Linked DNA regions of Homo sapiens: all the other regions are linked to region 2. Evidence: promoter capture Hi-C in 16 types of primary human blood cells and fetal thymus (Javierre and others, 2016). All regions are on one chromosome and are shown on one strand. The core of a region is centred on a gene start or on the middle of the fragment in contact, and the rest is flanking DNA. Distances in the headings are between cores, read along the strand shown.

Evidence for each region. Contacts are between HindIII fragments. The CHiCAGO score rates a contact against its expected background, and 5 or more counts as called.
Region 1: a fragment that was not itself captured here is called in contact with the fragment with the promoter of G0S2 in region 2 in 1 of 17 cell types (neutrophils); the score reaches 7.0 in neutrophils.
Region 3: a contact is called between a fragment that was not itself captured here and the fragment with the promoter of G0S2 in region 2, in 1 of 17 cell types (neutrophils). The highest score is 5.2, in neutrophils.

What each region holds. Positions count from the first base shown.
Region 1 is chr1:209,724,627-209,729,589 of GRCh38, reverse strand. The region is part of intron 4 of HSD11B1 (hydroxysteroid 11-beta dehydrogenase 1); the gene reads right to left. All of the region lies in intron 1 of HSD11B1-AS1 (HSD11B1 antisense RNA 1), which reads left to right. Among named protein-coding and RNA genes, the nearest start is that of HSD11B1-AS1, 15 kb to the left of the region's middle. The HindIII fragment of the contact is 5,210 bases long and covers 1-3,938 here.
Region 2 is chr1:209,673,582-209,678,256 of GRCh38, reverse strand. G0S2 (G0/G1 switch 2) reads right to left here and starts at 2,845. Exons shown (of 2, transcript NM_015714.4): 1 at 2,708-2,845; 2 at 1,867-2,604. The coding sequence starts at 2,572. The coding sequence ends at 2,261. All of the region lies in intron 1 of HSD11B1-AS1 (HSD11B1 antisense RNA 1), which reads left to right. RefSeq lists an enhancer at 1,885-2,733. The HindIII fragment of the contact is 4,554 bases long and covers 1-3,282 here.
Region 3 is chr1:209,706,090-209,710,826 of GRCh38, reverse strand. HSD11B1 (hydroxysteroid 11-beta dehydrogenase 1) reads right to left here. Exons shown (of 6, transcript NM_005525.4): 3 at 4,007-4,118; 4 at 3,699-3,884. The region is part of intron 1 of HSD11B1-AS1 (HSD11B1 antisense RNA 1); the gene reads left to right. Among named protein-coding and RNA genes, the nearest start is that of HSD11B1, 3.6 kb to the right of the region's middle. The HindIII fragment of the contact is 7,813 bases long and covers 1-4,737 here.

The sequences.
Region 1 (4,963 bases), core at 84-2,583, 53 kb before region 2:
TTGGTGTCTGAAGGTGGATGTAATGGCTATGGCTCCAGACCTATCTTGGACCATGAGGTAGAAGCCACGTGTTGAGGATGGCAAAACATTTAGATAGTTTAGATAGAAGGAAGGAACCTGGGTGACCATGGAGCTGCCATACTATACTGGCCCTATACTGCCTACCTTCAGACCTGATTTAAATTTTAACTTACTTGTGTGTGTGTGTGTGTGTGTGTGTGTGTGTTTTCCGAGGCAGAGTCTTGCTCTGTTGCCCAGGCTGGAGTGCAATGGCATGATCTCGGCTCACTGCAACTTTTGCCTCCCAAGTTCTAGTGATTCTTCTGCCTCAACCTCCCGAGTAGCTGGGATTACAGGTTTGAGCTACCAAACCTGGCTAATTTTTGTATTTTTAGTAGAAACAGGGTTTCACCATGTTGGCCAGGCTGGTCTTGAACTCCTGATCTCAAGTGATCCACCTGCCTCGGCCTCCCAAAGTATTGGGATTACAGGCATGAGCCACTATGCCTGGCCTAAATGCTAACTTATTGAATCCACTATTATTTTAGGTTTTCTGTATCTGAGAGCTGGACTTACTTCTTATTGATAGTTATCCTCACTTCTATGCAGCCCATGTGCCAAAAGAAAGCTGACATCATTCCTAACTGCAGGTATGAGCTTATGTAATCTATTTTATCCCATTCTTCTTACTCATGATTGATACAGGAATGGCCATGTGGCTCATTTTGGACCAATGAGATTTGAAGAAAATTTTGTTGGAGTGTCTCAAAAAGTTATTGTTTTTCTGGAAGAGTTTCTGAGAGTAGCAATCCTCTTTTTCTTCCAACACATTTTTTGTGCATTGATATGGGGGCTGGAATTGCTGCAGCTATCTCATTGTCAGCCTGAGGATGAAGCCACACATGGAAGAGAGCAGAGCCAAGAGAATCACGGGGACACTGAGCTTCAGCCAAGTCAACTGTGAAGCCTGCCCTACATCTGGACTTCCAGTTATGTCAATAATTTTCCTTATTGTTTGAGACAAAAATAGATCCACATTACTTATCAGAATAGCATAATAATTAAAAGTATGAGCTCTAGAGTCAGATGACCCAGGTGTGAATCCCAAGTATGCCAATTCTTAGCTGTAATATGTGGATAATAATATAACCAAGCTGAAGTAACCCATGTAATATACTTAGCACAAACTCTGGCACATAGAAAGCATTCAGAAAATGCTATTATTGTTAGCAGTATTAGTATTCAAATTGGTGAGAAAAGTATGAGCTATTCAAAAAATCATGTTGGGACAAATAGCTAGTTACTTGGAGAAAAAAGTGCCATTCTAATAAACAAATTCAAATTAGATCACAGAGTATATGTGGAAAGTAAAAAACTAAAATAAGCTATTGGTGAATTTCTAATCTCAAAGTTAGAGATACTTTTTAAAGCATGAAATTGGAGGCATATACTATGAAGGAAGACATAAATAGGTTGGAATATATAAAATGTGAAAAGCTACAGTGTACTAGAAATGCTTGCCATGGACTTCCTGCCCTCATCCCCTTCAAAGAGCCTTTATCTTTCTAGCCATGGAAGGTTGGCCCAGTTATCACGAATATGCACACTGGCTTGAACACACATCGTGGTCTCTCTTTCAATAAATTGAAATAAGTGACCAAAAGATTCTGATTGCTGCTGTTGGATTTTGAATGAAAAGGTCATGTAAGGTTGGGACTGGGGTAGCCATTTCAGCCATGGAGAGGGATAAGTAAGCGGAGACAAGTATTCTGCAAAAATAAGCAAGCATATGGAGCAAACACAATAACCTCTGAAATTGAGCTAAATAGGAACTAACATTTATTTAGCTCTTATGTGCCAGTGTAGAATCTAAAGGATAAATGCTCAAAGTTTCAAGGTTAATGAGTGGGAGAAGCAGGATTCAAACCAGGATTCAAATTTGACTCTAGTGGCCCACACTCTTGAACACTAGGTGGTACTTCCTCTACAGAAGGCACTGTTCTTTATATGAGTGTTTTCCAGGAGCCATGTGTTAAATCCAGTTCTTTCTGCATTGGTGAGGATTCTCTCTCTTTTGATAGTCGAGTCCAAAATAGGCAAAATTTATGAATAGCAGTATTATTTTCACTTCTAAGCTGACAGATGAGGATACCCATAAATAAACAGGGCTAGTCACTCCTAGTCCCTTTGTATTCATTTCCCTGGGCTGCCATAACAAATTACCACAAACTTGGTAGCGTAAGACTACAGAAATGTGTTCTCTTACAGAACTGGAATCCAGAAGTCCAAAACCAAGTTATCAGCACAGCCATGCTCCCCCCAAAACCTATAGCAGGGAATCCTTCTTTTTTCTCTTCTAGCTTCTAATGTCTGCTGGCAGTTGGAGCTGAGTTGTGCTGGCAACTCCAGTCTCTGCCTCCATCTTCACATCACTTTCTTCTCTTCTGTCTGTGTCTTTTACTCTTCATATAAGGTTACTTGTCATTGGATTCAGGGCCTCTCAGATAATCGGGAATGATTTCATCTTGAGATCTTAGTTACATCCTCAAGGACTTTCTATGTGTCCACTTAAGGTCACGTTCACAGGATCTAGGTGGATATATCTTTTGGGGGAGGACCACCATTCAGCCCACTACACACCCCTAGATGACAATAAAGATATTGACTATGACATTTAATGTGTTTGTCTAGGTGGCAACAGAGATACAGAAGCAAGATATCCTGCGAAGCCATAGTCTGAATTCCTAGAGCAGTTATTTTTATACCACTTATGGAGCTCATGCATCACATTGCCTATCCTTAGTTATGCCTCAGGTTATGCTCAAGGTACATAGAAGAATCCTAAATGGTTTTGTAGGAGAAGGAGGTAAGAGAAGAGAGAAAGTGAAAGCAGAAGAAAGGAGAGAAGTAGTGAAGGAGCCAGACATGTCAGAAGACCACCTGAAAAATTCATGACATGGATGCTTGTATGGTTTAAAAAAGTTTTTTTTTTGTTGTTGTTAGAAACAGGGTCTCACTCTGTCACCCACGCAGGCTGAAGTGCTAAAGCACAGTGTTGAGATCATAGCTCATCCTCCCACCCCAGCCTCCTGAGTTGCTGGGATTACAGATGCATGCCACTGTGCTTGGCTAATTTATTTTTAATTTTTTGTAGAGACAACGTCTTACTATGTTGCACAGGCTGGCCTAAAATCCCTGGCATCAAGTGATCCTCCTGCCTTGGCCTCCCAAAATACTGGGATTATAGGCATGAGCCACTGTGCCAAGCCTAAAAAATATTTTTGGTTTTTTTTTTTTTTTTTTTTTTTTTTTTACGGAGTCTCATTCTGTTGCCAGGTTGGAGTGCAGTGGCGCGATCTTGGCTCACTGCAACCTACGCCTCCCGGGTTCAAGTGATTCTCCTGCCTCAGCCTCCTGAGTAGCTGGGACTACAGGCATGTGCCACTATGCCTGGCTAATTTTTGTGTTTTTAGTAGAGATGGGGCTTTACTGTGTTGGCCAGGATGGTCTTGATCTCTTGACCTCGTGATCCGCCTGCTTTTAATTGGTGAAAAAAATGAACTATTATGCAAGCATATAAGGTTGGACAAAGACTACTGAAAAACGATTAGCCTTTATTGTGAAGACTATGCATGAGGTGCACTGTAACATAATAACATATGGCTACAGCTGTTGTTGACATCTCTCAGATTTTGTGACCTGCTATTGATCTGTAAATGTTTAAGCCAGTACTCAAATTCAATGCACGTAAGGACCATGTGCAAATAAGGACCATTAACCTGCAGATTTGAGCTCTGCCCCCCATTCTTCTAGTCTGTTTATGGAGTAGAGGACTGTGCTAAACTGTTCAGTAGGAAAGAGTGGCTTTATCCATAAATGATATTCATAGTGGGTTTTGAGAATGAGTGTGGGGTAGGAAAGGCATGGTGGCCTAAGCTTGTTGAACATCATCTAGGAACTCCTGAAAGAAATGGGGAGAGGTCTTTGGAAGAGGCTAAAGTCCCACAATGACAGCTGGGTGAGCAGTCACTGAATTATGAATTAAGTCTCTTTAAAACCCAAACTGGCATGACTAAGGAAAACATGTATTTCAAATCCAAACTGGATGTTTAGGTAAAGAATGATATTGGACTATCAGGAAACTCCACCTGGAGGAGGTAGGTTGTAAATTCTGCTTGATGAAAGGAAGTACATGAAGGACCAGGGAGGTGGAAGAATGGCTTGTACAAAAATTAGAGGCAGGAGTTAGATAGGCAGTGAGAAGCTAGTCAGACAAGGAAAATAATAGCAAAGTTTATTGTATTTTTTCTTTTACAAAAGTACAGACTTAAAAACACTTATCCAAAACTCTTAGAGCCAGATGTATTATGGAATTTTAATTTGTTTTTGGATTTTTGATGGTGGTATGGGCATTAATAGGTATTACATCGCATCTCCAGTAGGGTTGGAGGAGGCAGCCTGTAAGACAGCATGTATTATTTCTGCACTAAAATATTGGAAAGTTCATACTGAGATAAAGAAAGGATTTAAGTAGCCTCACTTCAGTTCAGGTTAAATTCATTAGGTAGATTTAATTATGAAAAGAAAATCCTTAGTTTTTGGAGTTTTATTATTGTTTCCATTTTTTTCCCATAGCTTTTTGGATTTTGGAATTGCAGATAAGGATTGTGAACCAGTCTAGGCCCACTAAAGGAAAGCTGGAACATATATTAAAAATTAAAAAGCAGAAAAAAAATGAAGAGAAGAGAGAAAAATCTTCCATTCTCAAACAACATTGGTGCATTTAATTAAAGCCTATTTCTATTCACAAGTGTGTTCTTAAACATTTTTCCACATAATGCTAATTAGCTTGTGTGAGGAAACCCCTATGTTCTGCTCTATGTAAACCATATTTAGAAGTTTCAGAAAGCTGAAAAGGGCAAAATCCCTCTAAAAATCTAGATTTTTATTTTTTAAAAAAGAT
Region 2 (4,675 bases), core at 1,596-4,095:
CAACATGGTGAAACCCCATCTCTACCAAAATACAAAAAATTAGCTGGGCATGGTGGTACACGCCTGTAGTCCCAGCTACTCGGGAGGCTGAGGCAGTGGAATCGCTTGAACCCAGGAGGCAGAGGTTGCAGTGAGCCAAGATTGTGCCACTGCACTCCAGCCTGGTGACAGAGCAAGACTCCATCTCAAAAATCAGAGCACACAATTTTACATGTATTTTGACAATGGGCAAAATACCTGTATTTGAAATCATACCTTCCTTGGAGAATTTGAGGTATGTGGTTTCAGAAGATGTGGAGGTAGTGGGTGGGAGGACATTCGGGTTGGAAATTCGGGTTGGAAGAGTAATGTAAATGAAGGTGCAGAAAACCAGAAGGAAACAGGCAAGGACCAGGGTTCATGCTAGGCACCCTGACAAATCAGGCAAGACGGCCAGCTGTGATGGAAGCACATCACAGAGGCACTGAAACCTGGCATAAGAGTTTTAGTCTCAGATGTTTTTGAGTTCAGGAGCAGCAGAATGAAAGATATTAAAGGAAGACAGTCTGACAAGGGATTGTTTAGGGTGAATGTGCTAGAAGGTGCAGGGGGTGGCTTGAGCGGTTGAGAGCCAGACAAGGTGGTAACTGAATGGGTAAAGGAGTAATTAATAAAAGAGGCATTTTGGAAGACCAGCAGGAAGGATAAAATTGAGTCAGTTCCTAGGAAGTTTCTTGGACATTGAAAGTGAGGCTCTGCCTTGGTATAGGGCTGAATTTCCCATTTTGGAAACTGGGAGAGCCATGGTGCCACTGACATTCTTTTCCTTTAAAACTCCAAATATGTTTCTTTTCCTTGATTAATCTTACCACATTCTGATTGCTTTTTTCCTTTGGGAGTGATAAGAATAGATTTCAGAAAGAGATGGCTTTTGATCAGGGCCAGGAACACTTGGTAGGAATTGAGTTGGCAGAAATGAAATGGAGATGTGTGTAGGGCATTGGACGAAGGAGAGAGTCTGAGCAGAGGCAATGGTGTGAGCCAGTGATATGTTTGGCAAAAATGCATAGCTGTTGATGAAAGGAGTAAAGTGTCAGTACCTGATTAGGACAGGTGACATGAAAAATGTGAGGAGACTAGCATCAAGGCCATGCCTCTGGCTCCTGGCTACTTCTTTAAAGTTTAAAATTTGTTTTGCTGAGCCCTATAGAGTCACTGAATTAGCTATTACTACAGATGAAGCTCTGTACACTGGAGGAGGAGGACTCAGATATGTAACAACCGGTTTTTTTCTCTTTCTAGCCCAGAGTTTCTTACTATGATCTGGATTCGTGGGGAGGAAGGCTGGGTAGAGCTAGACTCATCATCTGCTTTGGTGTTCTTGGGAGCTTATCTCTTTTCCTGCCAGGTAGATAGTTTTTCCTTTCTTTCCTTCCCTTCACCTCCAGACCTCCCTCCTTCATTTTCTTTCCTTCTCTCTGTCTGTCTGTCTAAAATATAGTTGGGAAGAAAAAGGTATCAGCCATGGGAACCTCTGGTGCACAGGTGTAAGGAACAAAGAGCTTTTCTGCCTTAGAATTAATCAGTTATCTCCTACTCACTGTAGCTCAGAAGTTGATCTACCTTTTGATGTTAAAATGCTAAATCTCACGGAAGTTATAAAATTTTCTCTCTTCCCACCCCTAACAAGAAGGAAAAACAAGTCCTCAACAGACTTATATGCATGTAGTAACTTATTACACAGTTCCTAGGTGTGAAGCAAGTGTCTGACCCTCAGGAAGCTGCTCCCTCTGCAGTGCTCAGGTAAGAACCCATCACCATCGCCCACCTGCTCACCCTCCCTGCTTCCCACCCCAGGACACCACACCTCTCAGGAATTACATGAGATATGGTATAAAAAGTTTTTTTATTTCAAAATGCAAAATGGTGGTCATTGTAATAATTAATAATAATAACATAAAAAGCATTTATCCTTCCTCCCTAGTGCAAAATGGTAGACGCATTTAGATAATTCACACAGTGTTGGAAATGTCATGACAATGCAGTGCTGCACAGCAGCAAAACTCAATCCCAAACTCCTTTGGTGGATGCTTGTGGTAGGTCAGTTCTAGATGTCAGCGGTTTCTCTGAAGTTAAGTCCAAATAAAAAACAGCACGTGCTCCTGCACTCTCCCAGCGGAGTCAGGCTCCTGTGCGCGCGCCCCCTCTGTCTCTCCATTCCTCTCTCGGTCTGTCTCTGTCTACTGCGTCTCCCTCCCACTCCGCTGGTCTCCCACAGTTCCTAGGAGGCGTGCTGCCGGTTGGACAGGGCCCGGCCGCCGAGGACCGTGTCCTGCTGCTTGCCTTTCTCCTGCAGGGCTTGCTTCTGGAGAGCCTGTCGCTCCAGGGCGGCCTGCAGCTCCGCCACGGCTGCCTCCTGGTCCCGCAGACGTCTGGCGGCCGTGAAGGGGCTGCACACAGTCTCCATCAGGCCGAGCACCACGCCGAAGAGGGCCAGCACGCTGCCCAGCACGTACAGCTTCACCATCTTCCCCTTGCGCTTCTGGGCCATCATCTCCTTGGCCAGGGGGATCAGCTCCTGGACCGTTTCCATCTCGGCTCTGGGCTCTCGGAGGCGGGAATGACCTGCAGGAGGAGCAGCAGGAGAGGGGCTTCAGCCACCAAAGAACGGCTCCCACCACCCCGCACCCAGCTAATCTTGGGGAGGGCTCATAGAAAGGCGGACTACCTTAGTGGCACGGCGCGAGCAGGAGGCAGCGCGAGCTGCAGTTGGCAGCGGTCAGCGCGTCCGTTGGTCCGACCGACCTCAGCGTTCTCCTCCTCTCGGCAGCTGCAGCTCTCCCAGTTGGAGACTCCGCCGCTGGCACCGCTTTAGCGTCCGGGGGCCGCTTATATCTTTTCTCTGAGACACGCCTCCTGGGCTCTCCGGCCCAGGCCAGCGCGGTCAGAGCCAGGGGAACTCGGAGGGGGAGGAAGAAGAGGAGGGGAAAAGGAGGGGGTGGAACCCGGCTGGGACCTGGCAGGAGGTGGCCACGCGCTGAGCACGCTCCGACTGTGTGAGCTAGGGGGCCCGGCGCGGGTGCCATCGCAGCGGGGCGCGTGGGAAGGCCAGTGTGCACGCGAAGGTCCCACTCCAGGCGAGCGCAGGGGAGGACCCGGAGCCCAGGGAGGTGTCCGCGGACATCTCTGACATGGCGGCAACCTTCTTACTGGTGTCAGCGGGTGCACAGCTTCCCTTGTCCAGGACAGCCTGACATTATAAATAATGAGGGAATTTGGGGGTTCCATCTAAAGAAGAAAGCTTTCATTTTTATTCGGAAGGGTTGTCACCTTCCCACGTGTGTGGCAATGGATCAGAGAGGAGAAGGCAAGGGGGAAGGATCTGGGTAACAGGACAGAACAGGTTACGCTTGGATAAAGCAATATGTGCTAATATTGTTTCTTTCCTGCCTGGTTGGTTTTATTTAGAGGTACATGCATGTATAACTAGAGTCAGTTGATAGAAAACTATTCATTGATGGTGCTTTTATGCACAGAGGTGTGTGTGTGTGTGTGTGTGTGTGTGTGAGAGAGAGAGAGAGAGAGAGAGAGAGAGAGAAAGAGAGAGAGATTAGTCTCTTTGCCTGCGAGCTGTTTCCTTATGTACTTCCGTGTATCAGGGAAGAGCCTTCAAATTCAAATTGTTCTCACTTCCACTTGAGAAGTGGAGTTGGGAGCTTGGGGGTAGGGGGTCAAGTATGGAAGGGGCTGTTGGTAGAAGTTCATCTGCCATTTTAGAATGGAAGTATTTCATGCTCTCCTCAATAATTCTCTGCCACCCTCCTGGGTTTGGGGGTACAACTTCACTGCTCCAGCTCAACTTCAGCTTTGAAGCAGTTTGTGGGCAGAAGGGCGTGTAGTAGACAGCTTAGGTAAGAATCCAGAGTGTGAGTACTCTTGGACGTGTGAAGATGTAGGATTGATTTTGACCAGGGTTAGCTGTAATCACCTGGGGCTGAGGGAGCGTTCTAGTTTGGCTTTGGTTATGGATATGCTAGAGTTAGCAAACTTGGGGAAAAAGAGAGGCAAATTGGCCAAAGGGTTAGCAAACTTGGGGAAAAGGAGAGGCAAATTGGCCAAAGGCCTTTAAGCAGAGAAAGGGAGGGGGCAGGGGAAAGAAGGGGAAATCAAACTGGCCAGAAAATTGCAAAGGTCAGTGATGCAATCTTGCAACAGCCTTTGCAGTCGGTCGGACTGAGCCCTGAAGGGCGGGTCGGGGGAAAAGGCTGTCTCAGGGATCAAATATTTTAGTTTTTGAATTGTTAACAGTAATCTTTCTTTGGGGGTCTGAAGCAATTTCTCAGATGATTCAGTTTAAAAAGGCAGCAATAACAACTACCCTTTGCCTTGACTATTAATAGTTCAGGCAAGGGCTTGTGTGTGGAGAATGGTCAAGGTTATCTAAATAGCTTATTTGAAATTCTATGTTTTAGAATTTAGTCTGAGTGAAGGTGACCAGGGGCCAAATAGAATTGATTATTCCTGGAGGACTGTGTTTCCTGCTTATTGTTCTTTTAACCTTGTCAGGCAGGAAAATTCTGTAACAAGGGTTCCTGCCAAGTTTAATATCAGTCTTGGCATTTTCTTTGAATCTTCCTTATAGTTTCAGAGCAACCTCTGATAACTGGCAGAAATGATTAGTGAGCTTTCCCAATAT
Region 3 (4,737 bases), core at 1,268-3,767, 33 kb before region 2:
GAGACACTTATGGAGCTTCTCAAGAGAAGTCTGATTCAAAGGTTATTGACAAGGTTCTTTTATTCCTTCTGATCTATTTTCATTTTGAATATTTAAAGCAACTGAGTCTTTTGTGATGTCCAGTTTCACTTCAAAATATACCTTGCATTTTCCTTGATCCAGAAGGATTACTATCCCTACACGTATGCTTGCCGAGTATGTTTAACATTTGTGTTATTAGTAGTTATGAGTAGTATTAGTAGTATTTGGATTACCAATAAACCCAAAAAAGAGAAATGATGAGGAAGTTGGATTTCTAAAGTTAACTTACCAAAATATAGTAGATAAAGACAAAGAAGAAACATTGAAATGGCTCTGGTGAGTTCTGAAAAAGACTTCATAGGAGGTAGGGGGCTAAGTAGATTTTGAGAGGAGAAAGGAGCAGAGGAAGACAGGGTTTGTCCGTGATTCCTCTCAGGGGCATAAAGCAGGTGGAGAAATGGCCTTAGATGCTCAGTTCTAGCTGCCATGTGTGCAACTGATGACACACACCACAGTGATGGGATTCACCAAGCCCAGGAGCCCGAAAATGAAACCAACTTTACTTTTCTAATATTGAACCTAAGATGACCTATTTTGACTAATGTCAGATAAACTTTTTTCCAGATGTTTTCAAATGTTCTCTGCCCACTCCAGTGATTTTTTTTAGTCATATTCAAGTATTAATATTTCTACTTTGGTTTGTTTCACAAATGCTATTTAGGTATTCTCTTTCCATTCTTTCTCCTACCCCACTGTCCCCTGCACGCACTGCCGGATGGAAGGACTTTGTTTTTTGTGATGGACCTTGAATGTGAGAGGGAATGAGTCTTTTGTGTGTGTGTGTGTGTGTGTGTGTGTGTGTGTGTGTTTCACATGTGGGATGGCCTGGAGGGTATACTTTTTTCTAGTCTTATGTGTTTTTTAGCATGGGTGATGTGGGAGAGATTGCTAGTTGTTTATCAATATCAGTGTCTTTTACACAAATAGAACTTCTGATTTTTAGTTGGACACATGTTCCCTTTGAATAAAGATAACAATTGCAGCCAGCTGTGGCAGAAGAAAAGTGTACACCTTCCAGGTGGTATCCTTCTTTTTTCATTTTCTTGAGTTAGAATTCAGACATGCCAATGAGCCATCTTGGACATGCAGGTGTAAACAAGCACTCTAGGAATGGTGGTTCTGAGATAGAAGGCCTCCTGGACAGCCTCATAGGACAGAACTACCATATCAGCCCTGGACTGCCTTTCCAGGGTGTTTTGTGTGAGATAAATAAATTTAGATTTGCTTAAGCCATTGTAAATTCGGGTCTTCGTTACAGTAGCTGAACTTACATCCTAACTAGCAAGTGGTGGAAGGAGAGGAGGCTAATCAATGTAACGGGATGTTACACATACAAGAAACTTGCTCAATAGGTGCCAAGAAAAGGTGGTGAATAGTGGATAGATGTGGACTACAAGGAGGTTCCCAGAAGCAGCAGTATTGTCTCTGTTAATGCTACAGAGGTAACCAAGCCTTTAAGGAACATATTAGAAGTATAGTATTCCCATGTAATGCAATACCCAGAAATGCATTGTGGAGAAAAAACAATTCTTTATCACTGAAACTCAATAAACAACTTAAGGTATTCCCTAGAAGAAATGATTAAAACTCCATCCCAGTACTGTTTGGCTGACCTTAAGATCAACTTGATGTTTAGCATCCCATATTTATAGAGTTTAGATTTTAAAGAGGAAGGATTAATGAACATGTTTACTGACTGATTAAAAGAATACATCATAAAGCAGAGAATATTCTTCAGTTGCGGCAAGACAGCAATGTGTCTGTACTTTGCAAGTTCATAGACAGGTTTCAAGGCAAAAAAGCTGGAATCTTTTGGCTACACAAGCAATAAACACCAAAGATACTCATCCAGCTAGATTTCCTACCTCCCAGAGTTCATGGAAATTACCAAGTGTCATTCAATAAGTGTAGGAGATATGGGGAAACAGAGATTATCAGAATTTCATCACGTCCTTGGGCTCAACAGTAATTCTTAGTCCTTCTGAGCACATTTAGATCATGGGTACATTCTAGAAAGTTACATTCGTCAAAGGTGAAATACATCCTTTGCCTAGAGTGAATGTATTATTTAATCAGCTGAAATCATTAAAGCCACCTACATCATGACTGATGTGAGGATTTTGTCCAATGCCCTGGGATGGATTGGGGATGTGCCCAGCACCCTCCCACTCAGTATGCATCTGGAAGCTCTCCCTTTCTTCCAGCCCAGAGAGAGTCTGTGTCTGGGGAGGGGTGGGGAGTGTGTGTTGTCTGGGAAGCACCGGGATGCATATCAATCACACTGTTTGGCGGGTAGCACAGACACACTGCCCCTTTATCCAATCACTATGCAGGCCGTCCCTGGGCCAGAAAGGAGAACTCTTTACGATACAGATGGTGCTATTAGTTTCAATAAGAATGTTTGTGAAGTGCTTAACAGTTTACAGAGTCCTCTAGGTTATTTGTTTTTATTTTGCCAGGAACAACATTTAGATGGCGGATTTTGATCCTGGTGTTTGCACTTTCCAGCCACATCCTTCTAACTGACTAATCAACAAAGATGTGTGGAACTTGTCTCCTGGATCTATGATAAAAATGGGCCTAGAAATGTCCCAAGCTGGGAACTCACTGGTTTTTTACTGGTGATGGCTTCTGATGCTACCACCATCCAGAACACCAGGGACCTCTCTTGATCCCACAGATATCTTTTCATGACCATTTCTCTGGACACATTTCCTCCCTACCCAGCTGGTTGTTTAAATTGATCTTTTCATGTTAACATGTTCAAATTTTAGAGAATACACCCACTATAGGCAGGTCTGTTCATCTTTTTTTTTTTTCTTGTTGTTCATTTTATTTAGCTTTAGCTTAGCCCACTTATCAGACACCTGTGTGTTGTTAAAACAGTTAACTTCTCAGTTGTACCTTCACATTTACATAACTTCACCAACCTTTTGGTCATGGAGGAAGCAAAGTCCTTTTTATCCATTGTGACTAGGTCTCTCACTTAGGACCAGGACAAGCTGTACCTCCAGCAGCCTCTCAAGTCCCTTCAACCTTCCTTTGTAGAAAACAATTCAGGCTTCCAATAGGCACTCTGAACTACTGCTTTTTCTCTGCTACTTAAAAGAATTTTGTAGCCCATCTACCTTGACCAATCCTTCATTTTTTATGGTGTCACTAGTTTGTAACAGTGTCTCCTTTACTCAGGATGCGTGCCTCTCATTGAGTCCACAAATCACCCCCCTACAAGTCTCTTATCAGTACATCTGCCCATTCATGCATATGAGTAAGCTGTTAATCAGCTTTTGTTTAATATTACTATGAACATTTCAACTTCAAGTTAATATTGTAACTAGGTCTCTCCCTTAGGACCAGGACAGGCTGTACCTCCAGCAGCCCCTCAAGTCCCTTTGACCTTACTTTGTAGAAAACAATTCAGTCTTCCAATGAGCACTCAGAGCTACTGCTTTTTCTCTGTTACTTAAAAGAATTTTGTAGCCCACTTACCTTGACCAATCCCTCATTACTTCTCTGCATGGAAACTGATAAAAATTTATGTCTACTTCAGAGCCTGGCATCATCCCTGGCATTTTTTTTTTTCTTCTACCTTCCACATATGTCCCTGTCCCACTTACCAGCCAGAGAGGAGACGACAACAATGCTTCCATTGCTCTGCTTCAGCATGGGCAAGGCAGCTACAGTCAGGACCACGTAACTGAGGAAGTTGACTTCCATGCTTTTGCGCACATGGTGAATATCATCATGAAAAAGATTCAAAGAAGTGTTGGTGATGTGGTTGAGAATGAGCATGTCTAGTCCTCCTGCAAGAGATGGCTATATTAAGAAATCATCTGGGGTTGATACCTTTCCCATTCTCCTCCCAAAAGCTCTTGGTGACCCCAAGGGCAAAGTTCAGAGGAGGAGGTAAGAGAAACAGCCTCACCCATGAGCTTTCCTGCTTGGGCAACAAATTGCTCTGCGAAGGTCATGTCTTCCATGGTGCCAGCAATGTAGTGTGCTGAGGCTGCTCCAAGCTCCAGGCAGTGGGATACCACCTGCAGTGATACAGCAGAAATGGCATCAGTCTTAGCTGCAGATTTTTGGGGGGTAGTCTCTGAAGTAACGGGGGGCTTAAATGAGAGATTGCTCACAGCCCTGTTTAGGTAAGAAATGGTAAGTATGTTTGTGTGTGTGTTGCCTAATATAACCCTCATGATCATCGTCCTCTGTCTGAAATATTTTCTGGAACTTGGTGGGGTTCAAATGGATAAATCATCCCAGTGCTGGGGTTTAAGTTCATGATTTATGCTCATGGCTTCTGTGAATAGGCATTTCTGAGGGCATTATGAGTGTAGATGCTGGTTACTATGTGGGTAGCTCTAGGTTTGTGAATGTTTGTACATCCTTGGGTTTGTGAGTCCATGAGAGGGCATGTGTCTGGGAGTCTGCATGGGTATGAGGATATGTATTCATAAGCAGGTACTGGGATTTCAGTTTTTGAAAACATCCGTATGTATCTGTAGTTCCATGTGTAAATGTGTGTGACTAGGCATGTCTGTGAGCATATATAACTCAAGGACTCTGTTGCAGAATATATTACACACACACACATGAATGAATGCTTAAATGCATACTTTTATATTCCTGTGGGTTTTTTGGTGTTTGAATCTATAT